2 separate regions of the Homo sapiens genome follow, and region 1 is linked to region 2. The links are contacts of gene promoters, found by promoter capture Hi-C in blood cells and fetal thymus (Javierre and others, 2016). All regions are on one chromosome and are shown on one strand. Each heading gives the region's core, a stretch centred on a gene start or on the middle of the fragment in contact. The rest is flanking DNA. Distances are from core to core; before and after follow the strand shown.

Evidence for each region. Contacts are between HindIII fragments. The CHiCAGO score rates a contact against its expected background, and 5 or more counts as called.
Region 1: the fragment with the promoter of SARS2 here is called in contact with the fragment with the promoter of ACTN4 in region 2 in 1 of 17 cell types (naive CD4 T cells); the score reaches 5.1 in naive CD4 T cells.

Annotation. Positions count from the first base shown.
Region 1 is chr19:38,929,049-38,932,777 of GRCh38, forward strand. It overlaps SARS2 (seryl-tRNA synthetase 2, mitochondrial), which reads right to left and starts at 1,715. Exons shown (of 16, transcript NM_017827.4): 1 at 1,422-1,715. The coding sequence starts at 1,688. It overlaps MRPS12 (mitochondrial ribosomal protein S12), which reads left to right and starts at 1,896. Exons shown (of 3, transcript NM_033362.4): 1 at 1,896-1,950; 2 at 2,228-2,295; 3 at 3,285-3,729. The coding sequence starts at 2,247. The coding sequence ends at 3,652. RefSeq lists an enhancer at 1,340-1,799. The HindIII fragment of the contact is 9,584 bases long and covers 1-3,729 here.
Region 2 is chr19:38,645,580-38,648,899 of GRCh38, forward strand. It overlaps ACTN4 (actinin alpha 4), which reads left to right and starts at 2,070. Exons shown (of 21, transcript NM_004924.6): 1 at 2,070-2,328. The coding sequence starts at 2,167. RefSeq lists silencers at 1,910-2,099, 2,330-2,409. The HindIII fragment of the contact is 8,558 bases long and covers 1-3,320 here.

The DNA of each region.
Region 1 (3,729 bases), core at 465-2,964, 280 kb after region 2:
TCTACTAAAAATACAAAAATTATGCAGATGTGGTGGCATGTGCCTGTAATCCCAGCTACTCGGGAGGCTGAGGTGGGAGAATCACTTCAACCTGGGAGGCAGAAGTCGCAGCGCACTCCAGCCTGGGAGACAAGAGCAAAACTCCATCTCAAAAAAAAAATGTCTTTTACTAGACTGTGAACTCAGATCATGAGAGGGCACAGCAGGGTACTTAAGATTGTGGAGTCTGGGTGTGGTGGCTCATGCCTGTAATCTCAGCATTTTGGGAGGCCAGGGTGGGAGGATCACTTGGGCGCAGGAGTTCAAGACCAGCCTGGGCAACATAGTATGTCCCTGTCTCAACAAAAAATACAAAAGTTTAGCCGGGCGTGGTGGTGTCTGCCTGTAGTCCCAGCTACACGGGAGGCTGAGTGGGAGGATTATTTGAGCTCAGGAATTCAAGGTTCCAGTGAGCTATAATTGTACCACTGTACTCCATCCTGCCATCCTGGGCGACAGAACAACACCCTATCTCAAAAAAAAAAAAAAAAAAAGTGGATTCTAGGCCAGAAAGCACAGGTTAAAATTCCCACTCTGCCACTTCCCAGTTGCATGACCTAGCGCAAGTGAATTAGCTTCTCGAAGCCTTAGTTTCCCCTCTGATAAAATGGGAGAAATAATGGCACCTACTTCATAGAGTTGCTGTGAAAATTAAACGAGGTTAAAGTGAATAAAGCACTTCAAACAGGCTGGGAGGGGAGTCCAAGAGAGGAATGGGAAGACGTGGGGACCCCACTATCGTTAGCACCTCAACACAGAGATATTGTGAACCCGGTCCTAATTCCCTTTTATAAGTGCTAGCAATTTTATTATTATTCACCGCATATTTGCAACATCTAGAACACCGGAATATAGCAGTTGCACCTTAAGTATCAGTTTAATAGAACCATTCATTAATGGATTCATTCATTCATTCATTAACTCTATTTAACTGCCTGCTATGTGTGGCGGAGGTGCACAACTCTCCCTACCTCTCTCTCTAAACGCAAGAGCTCCACCACACCCCAGCCCTGACCCCGTCCGATTCACACTTGGCTCCCCATTTTCCTTTGTGGTCTTAGGGAAAGGCTGGCATGAGGTTGCAGCACGGAGGGCAATGTCACATAGCAAGTTCCTAAAGGACAGGAGGTACCCAGCGAGCAGTATGAAACAAGCGCATAATGGGTGTCCAGGACACAGTAGGCATTCTTGGCACATAGTAGGGCCTCAGCACTCACTGGACAACTGGCACATAAGTGGGTGCCATGCACAAGACGTTGGCTAACTTGGGAAATAACTAAAATTCCTACTACAGGTTCGCCCCCTGCCGGAGGGCATCTTGCAAACCCAATTCTTCCGTAAAGCAAACGTCTGCGCCCCCCGGCCGGCGCAGGCGCACTCACGATCGCGGGCAGGTCCGCCGAGCGCAGCTCCCCCTTGCGGAGCTCCAGGGCGTGTGCGGCCTCTTCTGGGCATGCGCAGAACCGCTCTATGTCCAGCTGAGGGAGTGCGCTGTAGCCCTCGCGCGCATACTCGTACAGGAGGTTCCGGTTTCGTTTCTCTGTAGTGAAACTTCTCCTTGGACTATCGTTGGAGATGCAGCCTCCCCGGGGCCGGAACCCCCGACGAGTCAGCAAAGGCCACAAGCGCCGCGCCATGGACGCAGCCATCTTGGACCGGGAACAAGGCGGCACTTCGTCCCGCCCACTCCGCGTTTAGACCAATTGCAAGGCAGCGAACCTGACCGTGACGAGCCAATCAGATCCTGAGGAAAGTTGACCGCGATAGAGTCCTTCGTCGCCCAATCGTCGTCTGTGTCCCGCCTCTTCAGTGACGCGAGGCAGAACCAGCCAATCCCTGCACGGATAGCGCCCGGAAGAGGCTAGAAGCTGGATTCAGCGTGTCCGCGACCTCACCTTTAGGTCCTGTGAGGTCGGTGGAATCCTGGGGTCCTCCAAATCTACCAGGCCATCTCCCCAGTTTCCCAGTTCTTCCTGCGTGCGGGCGAGAGTGGTTGGGCCCTCGGGAACCCACTCAGAGCGAGGCTAAATTTACGGAGGGACTTTCTGTTAGCAGCATGAGGGCCTGTGGTTAGACCTATAGAGGTATTTCCTTTGATTTAAGCCAGAAAGTCCTGAGAGCGGATCGGGGAGCATTTGCGGATCGGTCACTTTTTCCTCCTTTCTGAGTCTCTTATCCCCTACCACAGGGACGGCCCAGGTGGCAGGATGTCCTGGTCTGGCCTTCTCCATGGCCTCAACACGTCCCTAACTTGTGGTAAGTGGGGGACTTGGGCTTCAGGGACGAGGCTAGAGGGGGAGGGTTATTCGCTCTTGGACTTGTGTGCCTCCGTCGGAGCCCCGAGGGAAACGGGGGTGGAAAAACACGGTGGGGTTTTGGCAGAGCTAGGGCTGCTAGAGCAAGAGGTGGGAAGCAGCTGCATGGAGGGCTACTGCGTGTCAAGCGGCGTTTGGGTCAGTTTTATTATTTATTTATTTAAGATCTCCCTCTGTCGCCCAGGCTGAAGTGCAGCGGTGTGATCACAGCTCACTGCAGTCTCGACCTCCTGGGCTCAAGTGATCCTCCCGCCTCAGCCTCCCAAGTAGCTGGGACCACAGGCCTGCAGAACCACAACCAGCTAACTTTTTGATTCTTTGTAGAGAGGGAGGTCTCCCTGTGTCGCCCAGTCTGGCCTTAACTCCTGAGCTCAAGTGACCCTCCACAGCCTCCAAAAGTGCTAGGATTACATGCATGAGCCACTGAGCCTACTATTATTTTAAACAGCATTAAAAATAATGCTTCCTGGCCAGCCGTGGTGGCTCACGCCTGTAATCCCAGCACTTTGAGAGGCCGAGGTCAGGAGTTCGAGACCAGCCTGACCAACATGGTGAAACCCCGTCTCTACTTAAAAATACGAAGATTAGCCGAGCGTGGTGGTGGGTGCCTGTAGTCCCAGCTGCTCAGGAGGCTGAGACAGGAGAATTGCTTGAACCCAGGAGGCAGAGGTTGCAGTGGGCCAAGATTGAGGTACTGCACTCCAGCCTGGGCGACAGAGTGAGACTTTGTCTCAAAAAAAAAAAAGAAAAAAAAAAAAAAGGTAATGCTTCCTTGAAGAATAAAGAGTTACTTTTGTCTGTAGATAACATTAGATGTGAACAAATGCATCTTTGTAAAGTGCTTTAAACAATGCCTAAAACACCAAAATTGAGTTGCTACTACTCTAAGATCTGTTCTCTGGGATAATAACCCCTTTCGGCCCTCTCCAGGCCCAGCTCTGGTTCCCCGGCTCTGGGCTACCTGCTCCATGGCTACCCTGAACCAGATGCACCGCCTGGGGCCCCCCAAGCGGCCGCCTCGGAAGCTGGGCCCCACGGAAGGCCGGCCGCAGCTGAAGGGTGTGGTCCTGTGCACGTTTACCCGCAAGCCGAAGAAGCCCAACTCAGCCAATCGCAAGTGCTGTCGAGTGCGGCTCAGCACTGGCCGCGAGGCCGTCTGCTTCATCCCTGGGGAGGGCCACACCCTGCAGGAGCACCAGATTGTCCTTGTGGAGGGCGGCCGCACCCAGGACCTGCCAGGCGTCAAGCTCACCGTTGTGCGTGGCAAGTACGACTGTGGCCACGTGCAGAAGAAGTGACGGCTGGGGGCACAGTGGGCTGGGCGCCCCTGCAGAACATGAACCTTCCGCTCCTGGCTGCCACAGGGTCCTCCGAT
Region 2 (3,320 bases), core at 820-3,319:
TGATCCGCCCACTTCGGCCCCCCAAAGTGCTGGGATTACAGGCGTGAGCCACCACACCTGGCCGGATATTTATTTATTTATTTTTATTTTTATTTTAGACGGAGTCTTGCTCTGTCGCCCAGGCTGGAGTACAGTGGCGCGATCTCGGCTTACTGCAGCCTCTGCCTCCCGAGTTCCAGTGATTCCCCTACCTCAGCCCCCTGGGTAGCTGGGATTACAGGTGCATGCCACCAAGCCCGGCTAATTTTTGTATTTTTAGTAGAGACGGGGTTTCACCATGTTGGCCAGGCTGGCCTCTAACTCCTGACCTCGTGATCTGCCTGCCTCGGCCTCCCAAAGTGCTGGGATTACAGGCATGAGCCACTGCGCCCGGCCATTTATTTTTAATGTAAACATTTTTTTGTAGAGATGAGATCTTGTTATGTTACCCAGTCTGGCCTCAAACTCTTGGGCTCAAGCACTCTTCCAGCCTTGACTCCCCAGAGTGCTGGGATTGCAAGAGTAAGCCACCAGTGCCTGGCTGAATATTTAAATTTAAGATGCTTCCTGATGCAGTGGCTCGCACCTTTGTTTAAATGTCTGCCTTCTCCATGAAGCCTACCTGAGTAGTTTATTTGCATTCCAGCCCATGCTTGATTTTTCTCCAAATACTCAACACCTTGGAATATACAATACTACCTATTTTTTACTTTTATGTATATTTTTGAGACAGGATTTCGCTTCTGGAGTGCATTGGTGTGATCACAGCTCACTGCAGACTGGAACTCCTGGGCTCAAGTGATGTCCCTTCCTCAGCCTCCTGAGTAGCTGGGACTACAGGTGCACACAGCCATGCCCAGTGAATTTTTACATTTCTTGTAGAGACAGGTTCTTGTTATGTTGCCTAGGCTGGCCTTGAACTCTTGGGCTCAAGCCATCCTCCCGCCTCAGCTTCCCAAAGTGCTGGGATTACAGGTGTGAGCCCCTGTGCCTGTCTACATATTTTTTAAAATTTTGAGTGTTGAGGCCAGGCGCAGTGGCTCATGCCTGTAAGCCCAGCACTTTGGGAGGCCGAGGTGGGCGGATCACCTGAGGTCGGGAGTTTGAGACCAGCCTGACCAACATGGAGAAACCCCGTCTCTACTAAAAATACAAAATTAGCCAGGAGTGGTGGCACATGCCTGTGATCCCAGCTACTCGGGAGGCTGAGGCAGGAGAATAGCTTGAACCTGGGAGGCGGAGGTTGCAGTGAGCCCAGATCACGCCATTGCACTCCAGCCTGGGCAACAAGAGCGAAACTCCGTCTCAAAAAAAAAAATTTGTGTGTTGGTTGGGCGCGGTGGCTCACGCCTGTAATTCCAGCACTTTGGGAGGCTGAGGCGGGAGGATCGCTTGAGCTCAAGAGTTCAAGACCAGCCTGGCCAACATGGTGAAACCCCGTCTCTACTAAAAAAATACAAAAATTAGCCGGGTGTGGTGGAGCATGCCTGTGTTCCCAGCTACTCGGGAGGCTGAGGCAGGAGAATTGCTTGAATCCGGGAGGCGGAGGTTGCAGTGAGCCGAGATCGCGCCACTGCACTCCAGCCTGGGAGACAGAGCGAGACTCCGTCTCAAAAAATAATAAAAATAAAAGTAGATTTGTGTGTATGTGGCTTCCTTTACTAGAAGGTAGTTTCATGAAAGTTGGGATTTTTTTCTGTTTTTAGTGCCTGCGTAAAACATAGTCTGGCACAGAATAGGTGTTCAATAAATATTTGTTGAATTTGTGTCGCTGAATGGGAACCCGGTGCAGTGCATTCCAAGCCTGAGCTGGTTCAGGTCCGATGGCGGGGCCTGCCCTTATGAATCATTCATGATCTGGCCCCGCCCATACGCGAACGACGCGCGCGTTCACGCCGGAGAGGGGGCGCGGCTCGCCCCCGGGCTGAGTCGGGCGGCCAGGAAGCGGGACTCTGCGCAGGCGCCAAGCTCCGGAGCGCGGCCTTGGTGCCTTTTCTGGTTTGGCAGGCGCGCGCGCGCGGGAGGGCGGCAACCTCGGCGCTGTGCGCAGGCGCGGCGGGCAGTGCGCAGGCGCGGGCGGAGGGCGGGCTGAAGCAGCTGAAGCGGCGGTAGCGGCGGCGGCTCGGGCAGAGGGGCGGGAGCTGAGGCGGGAGCGGACAGGCTGGTGGGCGAGCGAGAGGCGGCGGAATGGTGGACTACCACGCGGCGAACCAGTCGTACCAGTACGGCCCCAGCAGCGCGGGCAATGGCGCTGGCGGCGGGGGCAGCATGGGCGACTACATGGCCCAGGAGGACGACTGGGACCGGGACCTGCTGCTGGACCCGGCCTGGGAGAAGCAGCAGCGCAAGGTGCGCGGCCCGCGGGCCGGACGGGCTGGAGGGGCTTTTCTGAGGGGGCCCGGGGAGGGGTGGGAGGTCCTGAAAGGTAACTGGAGCGTCTGTGATGGGAACGGGGGGGTCCCGAGAAGGAATTGGCGGGTCCGGGAAGGGAATTGGAGTCCTGAGGAGGAATCGCCGAGCTAGAGGAAGGAATTGGGAATCTGAAAAGAGAATTGGCGGCTGGGTGGGGAATATGGGAGTCAAATAAAAGGAATCGGGAAGGCTGATGAAGGATTTGGAGGGTCTGGGCGTGCCATTAGGGGAAACCGAGGAGATGACTGGGCAGGCTGAAATGGAACTGGGATCCGAGGCGGGCTTGAAGGGTCGGAGCATGGGTTGGGGGTGCTGGGAGGAGAATCAGGGGAGGCTGAGAAGGGAATTTCTGGGTCTGGGAAGTGTGAGGAGGAGCTTGAGTGTGGAGGGGTTGGTTATTTGGAGAGCAGAAAGATCTGAAGGAGATTGGAATTGGGGGAGCCTCAGGTTGGGGGAGTTATAAAGGGGATGAAGAATCAAGTGTGAGGATGGAGTGGAGATTGTGGGGTCTGAAGACGGGTGGGAAGACTAGGGAGGCTGGGAAGATGAAAACAGGGGCTAAGGGTAGAATTGAGCATGAAAAGACATGGGCTTAGGGTGTGAGGAGGGTAGAGGTGCCAGGACTGGGGGTCTGAGGAGGGTGGGGTGCGGAAGGAAGAAGTTAAGGGGCCCGTGAATCAGACGTTTTTGAAGGGGGTGAGATTTATTTGTGGTGCCCTGTTCCAAAGGGGAGAAGATTAAGAGATAGGAGGAATAATAAGAGGAATTGATGAGGGATGGAGAAGCCGAAGTAGAGGGGATACGGAGAGTGGGGATAATTTGGGGAGGGATTTCTAAAGAATTGATGGGAAGCTGAAAAGCTAAAGCGTTGGAGAGAATGAGGAAGTGTAGAGGGAGAAGGTGAGATCGGTGGGAGGGAGGGTGAGCTG